Linked DNA regions of Homo sapiens: region 2 is linked to region 1. Evidence: promoter capture Hi-C in human tissues and cell types (Jung and others, 2019). All regions are on one chromosome and are shown on one strand. Each heading gives the region's core, a stretch centred on a gene start or on the middle of the fragment in contact. The rest is flanking DNA. Distances are from core to core; before and after follow the strand shown.

The links. The method cuts DNA at HindIII sites, captures the fragments that hold promoters and counts their contacts. A contact is called where the count stands out against the background at its distance.
Region 2: a contact is called between a fragment that was not itself captured here and the fragment with the promoter of NINJ2 in region 1, in 1 of the 25 tissues and cell types used here (dorsolateral prefrontal cortex).

What each region holds. Positions count from the first base shown.
Region 1 is chr12:660,555-667,622 of GRCh38, reverse strand. It overlaps NINJ2 (ninjurin 2), which reads left to right and starts at 4,178. Exons shown (of 4, transcript NM_016533.6): 1 at 4,178-4,295. The coding sequence starts at 4,263. RefSeq lists an enhancer at 481-980. The HindIII fragment of the contact is 21,671 bases long and covers 2,287-7,068 here.
Region 2 is chr12:869,139-876,156 of GRCh38, reverse strand. WNK1 (WNK lysine deficient protein kinase 1) reads right to left here. Exons shown (of 28, transcript NM_018979.4): 9 at 4,809-4,892. Among named protein-coding and RNA genes, the nearest start is that of RAD52, 77 kb to the left of the region's middle. The HindIII fragment of the contact is 5,080 bases long and covers 1-3,940 here.

The sequences.
Region 1 (7,068 bases), core at 2,929-5,428:
CTCTTTTGATAGCTTCACATTCACAAACAAGAATGTAAGCCCCAGAGAAGTTAAGTGACTTGCCTAAAAACACAGTGACTCAGCACACAGAGAGGAATCCAGGCCACCTGGCTTTCACCCTAGAGCTTTTCCCACAATTCAAAATTAAAGGATCTTCTTGCTGTTGCCTTCTTCAGTACCCTACAACAATGCTTTGCTCCTTCTACATAGCAAGATACCTAGGGTCTCATTGTAGACCCCTCATTCCATGAAACTAGACTCAGAGTAGTTTCTGAGTCACTCTGAGTGTCTACTTATCTGTAAGTTCAAGGATATTCCAAAATATGCTTTCCAAGAGACAGTCTCCCTAAAAATGTCCCTCTGGCTTTACACCACAAAAATCACCCTAGCAGTAAAGAACAATAGAAACCATTTCCACCCACAGTGATAACCTCCACGTAGGTGCAGTTTCAGCACCAGCCAAATGGCAGCAACACTCTTCACTACAGCTTCCCTTGCCATCAGTTGTCTCACCAGGGCGTGCATGTGGTGCTTTTATATCCCCGCAGTGTTTAACCCAATATCCACGTGGTAGAGACTCAGTAGTTGCCTCTCAAGTGGGAATTAGACTTCAAAGACTCTGATTAAATCCTAGAGCAGGGGTCAGCAGACTATAGCCTGTGGAGCCAACTCCGGTCTGTTTTTATGAATATCTGACTCTTTTTGTAAATAAAGTTTTATTGGAACACTCCCACACTCGTTCATTTACATGTTGTCTATGACTGCTTTCACATTATTATAGAAGTGAGTCATCGCAGCAGAAACCATATGACACACAAAGGCTAAAAAATATTGGCTCTCTGGCCCCTTACAGAAAAAGTTTACTGGCTGGGCATGGTGACCCACGCCTGTAATTCCAGCACTTTGAGAGATCGAGGTGAGCGGATCGCTTGAGCTCAGGAGTTTGAGGCCAGCCTGGGCAACATGGCGAAACCCCCGTCTCTACAAAAAATACAGAAATTAGCCAGGCATGGTGGCACGCGCCTGTAATCCCAGCTACTGGGCTGGGGGTTGGGGCCTGAGGTGGGAGGATCACTTAAGCCCAGGAGGCAGAGATTGCAGTGAGCAGAGACTGTGCCACTGCACACCAGCCTGGGTGACAGAGTGAGACCCCGTCTCAAAAAATTAAAATTAAAATTAAAAAAGCTTCATATAGCAATTTGAATTTTATAAAAGGGAAAAATGAAAAAGAAAAACTTTGCTGACCCCTGGTCCAGGGTTACAGCGTGATATGGTAGATAAACCATTTTCCAAAGCCTTTTTTCTGTTTACTTCCAAATGATGCTTATGAGATGGGGAAAGGTCCAAATCCAGAAAGATCTTGCCAAACCAAAACCATTATTATAACCAATTACAGCTGTTTCCTTTTCAAACCAATGTGCTTATTAATAGGAAATTTTTTGAAATATATTCGAGTACTTTTCTCTTTTGCATTTTTTTGTTCCTGTTTCCCTCTATTCAGCCAGATGTATCCATATTATTTAAAAGATAATGAGGATTTTCACAACAGGAGTGCAAAGAGAAATAAATAGTTAATATTTTGCTTCTGGCATCCGAAATAAGGTTTTCCAGAAAGTTTTTTTTTTTTTTTAAGACATGGTCTTGCTTTGTCAACTCAGGCTGGAGTACAGTGTCATGATCATAGCTCACTGCAGCCTTCAGCTCCCAGGCTCAAGCAATCCTCCCACCTCAGCCTCCCAAGTACCTGGGACTACAGGTGCTGCAAGCTGCCACATCTAGCTAAATTAAAAAAAAATTTTTTTTTTGTAGAGACAGGATCTCACTGTGTTTCCCAGGCTGGTCTTGAACCCCTGGGCTCAAGTGACCTCCTGCCTCTACTTCCCACAATGCTGGGATTACAGGTGTGAGCCACCATGTCCAGCCAAAAAGTTCTTCTACAGATGGGATCTCACTATGTTGCTCAAGCTGGTCTTGAACTCCTGGGCTCAAGAGATCCTCCGGCTTTGGCCTCCCGAAGTGCTGGGATCACAGGTATGAGCCATGCTGCCCAGCCAAGACAATATTTTTGACAACCAGGTTTTCTTGAGAGAGAGGATTTTCTAAATTTCTTCATTTCCCTTTGAATTGTTGTCATAGAGTTCTACATCAGATACATCCCAGCCAAACAGGAAAAAAAAAAAAAAAAAGAAGACAAAGCGTACATTTTCTGATTCTAGATTAAGGGGACTATGGGAAGAAGTAATCTCAGCTACTCGGGAGGCTGAGGCAGGAGAATCGTTTGAACCCAGGAGGCAGAAGTTGCAGTGAGCCGAGATGGCGCCACTGCACTCCAGCTTGTGCAACAGAGCGAGACTCCATCTCAAAAAAAAAAAAGTGCTTAGAATAGTGCTTGATACATAGTGGTATTATTATGAGCGGTGGGGTGATAGATATTACTGGTAGACTTTTTAAGGAGTGCTGAGAAGAGTGGGTTCCAGGTCTCATTTCCATTCAGGAATGTGGAAGGAGATCACCTCGCAGACTGCCCTGTGTCAGTTGGAGCAGCCACATCAGAGCAAACTCTGCTGGAAGTGGGGCTGAGCTTGCCTTTCCCCTGCCCTTCGTCAGCAGCCCTCAGTCCCCATGTGCCTAAGGGGGCTCAGGAGCACTGGTCAAGCATCTCACAGGAAAATTTCGAGGGGCTTATCTTAGAGATGTGGGCCACTGAGCGGATACAGTGGGATGGGGGCACATACAAGTCAAAGCCAGGTCTCAGGATGGTCCACATTGCCACGAGCCAAGGTAGCGCAGACAGCAAGGGAGAACACTGGATCTCAAAGGCAGAAAGAGAATCACCCATGAGTGACTCTGGCCTAATATCAGACATCAGCCACCAAGGCCAGCAGAAGACCCAGGAGCAGGACCTGTGTCTCCTCAGCAGTCAGCAATTCGGGCGGGCCCGTGGGCCCAGCAGCTCCAGAACAGAAAGGAGCCGAGATGGAGAGGCCACAGGATAGATGCAAGAACCGTCCCCACCCCGCCCTCCTGTGCACCTAGGTGCCATCTTCTGCAAATCCGAAAGACTGAGCATTGTGTCTAAAGTGGACTGTTTACCATTTAAATGATTAAATCCAACTATGCTTCATAGATTAGACTAAAATATGGCCCCCATCCAATCATCCAACCCTCCCTCGCACCACTGTCCAGAGGGATGGGAACTTATAAAGGCATTTCATAGAACTGAAGAAATCGCCTTTTTTTTTTTTTACATTTGAATGTGGTGAGGGTAAACGTGTTGACTCTGCCTGTCTTCCTCCTGCCCGCACCTCTTCAAGCCCTGAATTGGATTACAGGTTAACACCCTGCCATGCACGTCTACAGACATACCCACACCCACACCTGCACAAGCTTGTGTCTAAACCTTGCTTCAGGAACAAGCCAGAAGAGTTTTGGGCTCTAAGGTAAACAGGAGAGGAAAAAAAAAACTTTCTAAAAAAAGACTCCCTCCTGGTAATTTTATTTTAAAAGTAGGGAGAATACCACTGTTTGCATAAACAAGCTTCGAAGGTACAACTACTCCCTGCTCCCTCTATGGCTAATCAAGGGAGGAGTTGAAGGAATCAAACAATCCGTCAGTAAAAACGTATTGTTCACTCACTTTGCAGAACAAAGCCTATGCTTTGGAGCCTATTAGGTAAACTACAATTTTTTTAAAAACTTTTAGGGATATAGGGAACAAAGCAAAGAACAACGGAAATCCCTCTGCCTCAGTATTGAGACTGTGCTGGAGGTCACTCCACCCGTGGCGACTGGGGACTGGACCCAGCGGTGAAGTCAGATAGCGTTGTCCTCAGGCTGTTTTTCAATTTGCTTGATAAACATGCAGGATTTCTTTGCCAGTCATAAAGCTACTAGCTCAAAGCAGGCTGGGTGACCTCAGATGGCTCCGCTGGGACTGGAAGGTCACTGGAGCCACTGGTGAAAATGATGCTGTCACTACCAACTCAAAAGGTCACCTATCAGTGTGCCATGTGCCACCTCCTGGAGCACACACATGTGCACACACATACACTCACACGTGTGTGCAGGTGCACACCTCCCCCAGAGGCTGCAGCCAAGACGGGCATCCCACATCAGAGGGATGAATGGCAGGTCTGTCCCGCCAGCTGTGTGCTCTCTCCCACCCGAAGAAAGCAGCAGAGACTCAGACGGCGGAGCCTGGAGGAGCCCACGCAGTCTGTTCCCGGCACCCGGTGCGTGTGAAGGGACTTGAGGGCAGCGAGATGGAATCAGCAAGAGAAAACATCGACCTTCAAGTAAGTTCTCTCTGGAAGAGAGCAGAGGGGAGACCGGGAGTAGAGGTGAAGCTGGAAGAACAGAGGATTGATACTTTAGTCACTTGATATTCTCCCTCCCCGTTCTCTTCTTACTCACTCCCTTCTCCAAATGCTCCCTAGGCTTTGTCTCTTTATTTTCTCTTTCTCTCTGTTTCCCTATCTGGTTCTTCACTTGTTTTGAAATATCTGAAAAACAGATTGGTTAACTCCCTTTTGGCCTCTGCTTCCTCTTGTCAGTCAAAGAGCTAATTAGATCCGTATTACCAGAAAATGATTTCACATTCTGAGCAGTGCTTTCCCCAAACCCCAGGACAGTAGAGACTTCTCTTAGAGCTGCCGGGGAGACAGGAAATATATGAGTTTTGAGGCTAGGAAGAGAGGCAGCTGGCCAACTTTGCATTTTACAGGTTGGAAAAAACTTGAGCCGTTTCTCGGCTGTCTTCACAAAGCTCTACTGTGTAGGACAGAAAGCGTCTCATTTGGACAGTGCAAGGAAAGGAAATCAGTCTAATCTCCTAGGAAGAGGCAGAGATGTGTGTCCCTCTGTAGCTGGGATGGGCTTGGAAGGCATCAGAGGTTCCAGTCCACTGCTGGAGGGGAAAGGGTGGGATGTTACGGTGAGAGGAGAGCCAGATTGCTGGGAGCTGCACTCTGTGACTCCTTGCCAATGGATAGAATAGAACGAACCCTTCTATGACCACTGCTGAGGCTGTGTAACATTGCAGAGAATCAAACAAAGTGTGGAAAAGGACTTTTGAGATCAAGAATTTCTGATCCCTGAACCTGGTCCTCGAACAAAATCTTAAGCAGCCACCCAATATACACTTCGGATTAAAGAAGAGCTGTTTTGTTGAAGCAGAGTATGTGCACGCGTCTCTCTCTCTCTCTCTCTCTCTCGTTCTCTGTGTGTGTTTTGGGCAGGGTGGCGTGAGTCTGGCAGAGTCTCTGTCCTTGGCCCCTCCGCCCTTGAGACACCACCAGGGAACTGTAGGACTGCTTGGTGTGCTGTGTCAAAACCATTCACCTAGTACAACTGCATACCCAGTGCTGTTTTCCTGGATTGGCAGCCAGCCCCGAGAGCGGTCCCACCGCAAGGCTTGCTTGTCCCTCTGTCTGGAACCTTCTTTCCCTGGCTTATCTCCTGGCTGGCCCTTCCTAGTACATTCAGGTCTCAGCTCAAATGTTACTTCCCCCAGGAGCCCTCCCCTGACCAACCTCTTCACAGGATGCCTCCTCCCCAATTTGTCTTTATCATTTGTTTAATTTCTTTCATAGCACTGCTCACCACCTAAAGTTACACTGCTTATTTATTTAGTATGTATTGCCTGTCACTCTCACTAGGACACAAGATCTCTGAGGGCAGGGCCTCTCCTGTTTTATTCACTGCTGCAGCCCGAGTGCATGAGGCAACTCTTGGTACACGGTCATTGCTTTAGAAAACATTTGTTAAATGAATGAGTTGAGGAAGCCATGAGTTGGAGAGGCTCTGAGATAGGAATAAGGTCACCTAATTGGCCCAAGACCTCCAGTCCATGTCTTCTGTCCCTAGTATGTGTTTTCTTCTTACTTCTAGTTCTTGCCTCTATAAGATCCTTGGTTGTTAAGGAAATTGTGTTGCTGCTTATTTTCATTCTCAGAAGAGCAAGTTTCTTATGTGCTGATGGGTTGAACGATCCAGAGTTACAGGCTAAGGACTCTGCATCTGAACCAGAGGTTCAGAAGGAAAGAGGTGGTGGGAGGAAGGAGAAGGAAATGACTGGCTAGGCTGGATGAATGTCTCTCTCTAGCAGGTAACTGAGGTGTTAGTGTACCTTTCTCTTCATTTGTCATTCACTCTCTTCTAATATGCTATTTAATTCTTGTATCTTACATTTTCCTTTGCTCAGAAGGTTATCCATTATTTTCTACAATTTATTGTCCACCTTTGGCTGGGCACGGTGGCCTACGCCTGTAATCCTAGCATTTTGGAGGCTGAGGCAGGAGGATCACTTGAGCTCAAGAGCTAGAGATCAGCCTGGGCAACATAGCAAGACCCTATCTCTATTAAAAATTTAAAAGTAATTAGCTAGGCATGGTGGCATGCACCTGTAGTCCCCACTACTCGGGAGGCTGAGGTGGGAGGATTGTTTGAAGCCAGGAGTTCAAGGTTGCAGTGAGCTACAATCATGCCATTGCACTCCAGCCTGGGCGGCAGAGCCAGACCCTATCTCTAAAAACAAAACAATAACACTCTTTAGTTAAAACAATGTTTCCCCAAAATGTGGTACAATTATCACCAATGGGTGGTAAAGGTACATCAATGGCTGACAGCTTTTTATTATAATGTTTATTTTTACAGTTTTTTTTGAGATGGAGTCTCACTCTGTCGCCTAGGGTGGAGTGTAGTGGCAAAATCTCAGCTCACTGCAACCTCCGCCTCCTGGGTTCAAGTGATTCTCCTGCCTCAGCTTCCCAAGTAGCTGGGATTATAGGCATGTACCACCACACTTGGCTAATTTTCATATTTTTAGTAGAGACAGGGTTTCATCATATTGGCCAGGCTAGTCTTGCACTCCTGACCTCAAATGATCCACAAGCCTCGGCCTCCCAAAGTGCTGGGATTACAGGTGTGAGCCACCATAGCTGGCCATCTTTATAGTTTCAGTATTCATTAGAAAGAGCATAACAGGGCCGGGCTAGGTGGCTCACGCCTGTAACCCCAGCACTTTGGGAGTCTGAGGTGGGCGGATCACGAGGTCAGGGGTTGCAGACC
Region 2 (7,018 bases), core at 151-2,650, 210 kb before region 1:
ATTACAGGCGTGAGCCACCGCGCCCCGGCCTCTGATAATGTATTCTTATTTTAACTTTTAAAGAAGCAGAAATGGCTGCTGAATTACATGAAATTTATTTTCTGCAAACTAAGATAAACCACATGTAGCCAATTCTAAAGGTGCTCTGAATATAAGACAAATTTGTTAATTTCCCACCTGAGAAAAAGGAACTAAAAAACCAGAAAACCTTTTTTATTTGCCAACTTGAACAAATTTAAACTTTAAGGAATGTGAATGAGATATCTATAATTATCTAACTCATTAATTTACACACGTAAATAAGATTGCATATTAAATATATTAATTCAGAAATACTGCTCCCTCTCCCCCAAACTCTACATAGGTAAAGACACCAGCATCTTTACCTTCACTGAAGCTAAATTATGAACGCTCCTGCAGTTTTCTGGCATAACATAACACATTCCATCTAAGTTGTATCTTCAGGTAAAATGTGCAGTGAAAAGCACCTATTTACATAACATTAAAATAAAACTAGATTTTTTTTTCCTTTCTCTTATAGGTTTTTATTCATGTAACCCTTATATTGACATCTTAAAGAGATCTTTAAGCCAGTTGTTTAAAATCACATACAGTCCTCAGAATAGTGAAGTCATATTGCTGAGAATAAGGACTAAATTTATGTTTATTCCTTAAAAATATTCTGTCTGATGTTCTCAATGAACATTTCTAACTACATGAGCTGAAGTCTTTGCAGGCACATTTGTTCTCACCTGTTTCATTTTATTTCATTAACCTTTTTTGGTTTGTTGTTGTTCAAAGTAAAGGACAGTGAAAACCCTGTAATATGAGAGTACGATAAAGGTCTGAATACATGGTTATTCCCCTCTTTTCTAACGGATAAATTTGAGGAAGAATTCCCATGTTATCTTTGGGCATATGGTAATCATATGCTCCCAGCCCCCAATACATCCTCCTTAATTCAAAATTATGCTCATATCAAAATTTAGACTCTATCAACTCTTTCCTGAACTTATACCTTCACATATCTATGCTCTAGTTAAACCAAACTAAAGGCACATTTGTTTTTGTACCCTATTTTTCTATCTTAGGGCCTTTCACATTGCTCACAGTATAATTTTTTTATCTTCTGGCCTGGAATATTCTTTATTTCTACATCTGAGTCTAACTTATAATCAAAGTCCATTTCAAATGCCTCCTTTTTCCTAAAGTCTTCCTGATATTCCCTTTCCTGCTTGGGAGAGATGTTAATTTCTTCCCTTTTTTTGGACATAATTGGGTAGTAGTCAAATGGTGAGCTGTGGAATTAGATTATTTGGATTTAAATTCTGTTTTTACCTCTTATAAGCTGTAAGTTTGGGTAAACTACTCACCTTCTCCAGATCTCAGCTTTCCCATCAGTAAAATGGAAATAATTATAGCATCTATACTTATAGGGTTCTTAAAACGATTAAATGAGAATGTAGGTACAATGTACAAAGCACTTTAATATTAGCTATTATCCTTATTTGTTTTTTAGAAATTTACATATATATTTACTATATTATTTAGACTCTTTCAAAGTAGTCATACCTGGTCCAGCTCGGTAGACCTTCAGTATCTGAACTCAATTAGGAAAAAAAGCTGAAAGGACTGTCAAAAATGAGCAGTTTTATGGACAAATTATTTCTTTGCTTAAGACAACTGAGAGGCATCTATGACAGTGACCCTTGTATTAACATCTTAAAGAGATCTCTAAACCAGTTGTTTACAATGGCTAACGGTTAATGTTACATCTTAGAGCATCTGGGGAGAAGTGTCACCTCTGGATATGCCAGAAGTACATGATGATCTGCTGTGCGCAGTCCCACTGACTAATAATCAGCACTTCAGCCAGGCAGGGGTGGTCTAGCTTAACAGTTTAGCATCATGCTCTGCCCAAGCTTGCCTCATGAAACCAGTTCAAACAGACTTTATGGATAGTAGGGTAGGTAGTTCACAACTTCGGTGCTTTTTTTTTTTTGAGATGAGTCATGCTCTGTTGCCCAGGCTGGAGTATGGTGGCAATATCATAGTTCACTGTAGCCTTGAACTCCTGGGCTCAAGTGATCTTCCTGCCTCAGCCTTCCAAGTAGCTGGCACTGTGTCTGACAAAGTTCACAACTTTGTTTGTGGTCACAAAGCTTTTCAGCAGGAGGCAGCTATTTTTGGTACCTTGCTAAGATCTAGTATATCACTATACGAGACCCTACAAAAACACACAAAAAAGCAATTCCTCATTTACTATGTTCAAGAAACGCATGAAATAAAGTAAATTTTAGCAAAAGTATATTTCTTTCCTCACTAAAATAAAACAAGAGATATGGTTCTCTAAGGTGGGATTGGGACCTGAAAGTACGTAAAACAAAAATCATGTCTAAAAATAGACTATCCATATAGTACAAAAAGTTTTCAACCTTTCTTTTTTCAAACGTGGAACTCCAATAATTAAAACAAATAAAGACAGCTTCTGAGGTACATTTGCAGAATCATTAAGTCCCTGCAGAACTTTATTTAAAATGGAAGAAACAATACTATTCTAGGAATCTTGAATTCTGGGTTATAATTTGTAGCTCCCTTATTATCTAAGTGACTTTGGAGAAGTTAATTATTCTAGACCGAATACACTTCCTATATATATCGAGGGCTCAATTTTGTGATTCTACAACACATGCTATAAAAGTATCTAAAACAAAAACATCACTGAAACAAAAATTAATTTTTGTTTCTGCTGTAGAGATAGCATTTAGCCATATTTTTTTCTCCTGGAGAGGTAGCTACCTAATTCTTTTAATCTGACATTTATGGTACTGCTCTCTTCTTTTCTCACACTCTTTCTTAACATGAAACTCAATGAATTATTTTATTATCTTCTTCATTTGATAGTAAGTATACATACATATCCCCAAATACAAGACAGATAACCAATTCCTTTGGAAAAGAAAAAACAGAGCACATACAATTTGCTCAGTTCATTGGTGTTCGTCTACATCCAAAGATAAGCAAGTTAGGAGATTAGTACTCAGTACTTCCATTCTCAACCAGCTTTATGTGACTTGTAATTTGCATTCTAATTAGGAACTGTTAATAGAATAAAACAGATTTTGTTAAGGTTGGCAAAAATATGTTTACTTGAATTTAACCAGTCTTGTTTGGAAGAAAGGACAGGTGCAAAACAAAGCATATAAGTCCCAGTCCTTCAGTTCACGGAGTGAATGCATGTATAAACAAACTAATCAACTGTTTCTGTAGAAAGTGCCTTTAAGTGATTTTCATCTTGTACAAGCAACTCCTGATCTTAAACCAGTATCGAATGACTACATGACCATATGTTGGACTGAAAAAGGGCCATTTGTAATTAAGAACCGAAAACTTTGTTTCAAAACCAAAAACTAATAGAAACAGAAGCCAGTTTAGAGTTTGCTGATTAAAAAACCCACATGGGGAACTAACATTAGGAAGTTTGCATTACATACATAGTGGCTACAAATTTTATGTAGAATAGCTAATAAGTATTCAATTATGCCAAAAATGCATTATTCCCTTGCAAATAATTACTATTAACTAATATCAGTGATGCACTATAAATATTTAATTTTAGAATTACCAGTTTTACTGTTGGATGTATCAGGATGACACTAATCTCTTGAATTCCTTGAACTTTCTGGAACAAGCCCCCCAAAACAAAAGTTAAAATATTTTGGCTGGGCACAGTGGCTCCCAGCACTTTGGGAGGCCAAAGCGGGTGGATCACTTGAGGTCAGGAGTTCAAGACCAGCCTGGCCAACATGGTGAAACGCCATCTCTACTAAATTAGCCAGGCATAAGTAGAACGTAATACAAAAATTAGCTGGGCATAGTGGCACGCGCCTGTAGTCCCAGCTACTCGGGCGGCTGAGGCGTGAGAATAGCTTGAACCTGGGAGATGGAAGTTGCAGTGAGCCAAGATTGCACCACTGCACTCCAGCCTGGGCAACAGAGCAAGGCTGTCTCAAAATAAATAAAAATAAATAAATAAATAAATGTTCTTGAAGTAATTGTTCTTAGGTTTTCATTAGATGCTTCTTAGCGTAAAATCTGACACATCATTCTACAGATTAGAAATAATTAAAAAGAAGTGCAGGATTAGTAGAGGCAAGCACAATGAAGGTAATGACAAATCACTGCTGCAAGCAGTGGAAAAAAAGAGAAAAGGAATGACATACTCTTTGTACCGTAAATTATGTGTAGAATCCAGGCTGGGTGAGGTGGCGCATGCCTGTAATCCCAGCACTTTGGGAAGCCGAGGAGGGTGGATTACCTGAGGTCAGGAGTTTGAGACCAGCCTGGCCAGCATGGTGAAACCCCGTCTCTACTAAAAATACAAAAATTAGCTGAGTGTGGTGGCAGGCACCTGTAGTCCCAGCTACGTGGAAAGCTGAGGCAGGAGGACTGCTTGAACCTGGGAGGCGGTGGTTGCAGTGAGCTAAGATTGCACCACTGCACTCCAGCCTGGGTGACAGAGTGAGACTTTGTCTCAAAAAAAAGGTGTAGAATCCTCTTTTAAAAAGATAATTATATCAGTAATAATGTATGTCTACTAAATTGTTCAAAAGTATATTAAACAAAAGAGATTTTTCTGAAACACAGAAAAGTCTCTTTTTTTTCTTTGTTACTGAACACAAGACATGGTATGCCTCTTAATTTTCCTTTCAAAAACTTAGCAGGCCATTTATATAACAAATCACAAAAGTTAAAATAGTGTTCTGGCCACTGCTAATTCATAAAATGTTGCAATGCATTGTTCTCACCTGCTGAGGATGTTGTATGGGTTGGGAAGATGAAACCCCTGTTAAGCTACTTGAGGATGGCTGACCCTGGCTCTGCCCCTGTGCCTGAAGGAAAGAAGTGAACACAACAAATTAGAGAAGGCCTAAAGTAAGTGTATAGAGGTCAGGCTTTTGCAATGAATATTTAATCTCCTCAGAGTTTGCTTGATCAAAATGAAACATTAACCTGATTATGTATGGGAGAGGCCTCTGGGTCAACTTTTGTAAGAAAAATTTAGAAAAGGATCATACCACACAACATGTTCTGATCCCAACCCATGCAAAACCCACTGACAGTGAAAACCTAAGCTGTCAATGCTGCTCAGGCTGTAATTTTAGCTGGCTAGAATCGTCAGATTCATAATAAAATTTGTTATTAGAAATACAATAATCAGGAACAAAGTATTAATACTATCAATCTGAAATTTATCTGAAGAATTAAAGAAAGGTATTTGGTAATGCTAATTTGGTAATACTTCTTGTAGTGCCACAATGACTTTTATCAAAAGTATCAAAAAATCTGTTATCATCAACTGCCAAGTACCTAGGGCGATCATTGCTATCCAGGAGCAATCCTGCCACCCCCAGGGGGGCACTTGGCAATATGTGGAGACATTTCTGGTTGTCACAACTGAGGGAGATTGCTGCTACTAGTATTTAGGAGGTATAAACCAAGGATGTTCTAAATAGCCTACAATACATAGAACAGCCCACCACAACAAAGAATTATCCAACCTCAGATGTCAACAGTGTTGAGTCTGAGAAACCCCAACTACAGTGTTTCTCACTAGAAAGTGAGAAATGATGCAGGACTATATATAGGTATGTTAACGAAATGAAAAGGCTACCACTTTTGTCATTCCATTTCAGTTTACAAGGGGTTCCTTAAAGCTTACATGGATATAATATCACATTCCACTGCAGCTTAACTATTATAAATATTGATTCCTTCTGTAGTATGTCTATAAATTAACTACCTGGTATTTTTTACTTTGGAAAGTCTAAAGGATAATTACTGGCAATACATTAATATTTATAATAGGGGCTGCAACTTGAATACTGATGTGAATATACTGCATGCCCATGTATAGCTGTCAAGCTTCTGGATCTTTTTGTGTCTTAGTACAGCACTAAATAATTGATAATTTGTGCACATTTTGGGAGTTGTTTATGCTCCTGATGAGGGAAGAACATAGGAAGAAAGTAGGAAGAACAACACATAGTACTTTATGTAGGATATCCAAATGTCTTCAATATATAACTGCATAGTCTTCTATGTAGATTTTATAAGATGTACACATTTGATAAAATATACCAAATGAATATATGAAACAGTAAACACTGACTGTACTTTTGAATTCTATTACATTCATTACATTGTCTTTATTTGCTAAGTGTGTATATGCTCATACACATAAATAACTAAAATTAAATTTGTTGAGGAAAATACAAGGCCTAAGATGTCTACTGTTCCTTAGCTTGCAACATATCACAAATTCTTATAACAAAAAAAAAAAGCCCACCACTCACTAGATTGTTAGTTGCTAAAAATTAGAATCAGTCCTTAATTTTATGAATTAGCATTTTATTTGGACATATAATAATGCACAGCAACTTGCTTGACTGATGCCATTTTAAAAAGGCATTTTCATTTGTTAAGGCAAATTCCTAAACTGTTTCCTTTTCTATCTTTTTTTATTCCCATGATATACTTTGTCTTTTTAGATCCTTCGACACTAATGAAAATTCTGTGTATTATTAATATTACCTCAAAAACAGCATTCCCTATTTTCCATGTTTTATATTTTATAGAAAAAAAATTTATCCTATTTTTTAAAAACTTGTTTGGAGGAAGAAAGTAATACTTAAGATTTGTATTCCTAAATAATGCTGGGTCAACCATACATTACATACACTTGCATTTTCACTACTGGTTGAAAATAACGTGCATAGAAGTCGTGATTGTGAAGAATGACTAAAATTCTAGTTTTTGTGTTTTTTCCACTGGTTTTCACATATAATAGGTAAATCAGGTAGCTTCTCTCACATTTTGTTTTTAAATGCATATATGTAGTTCACAACCCCCCAAAGATGGGGAAACTCTACTGATAAAATTAAACAATATTTCTCCAAAATCCATGATTCAGGGAAATAAGGAATAGAAAATTTAAATGTTATGGTGCAAAGTAGGG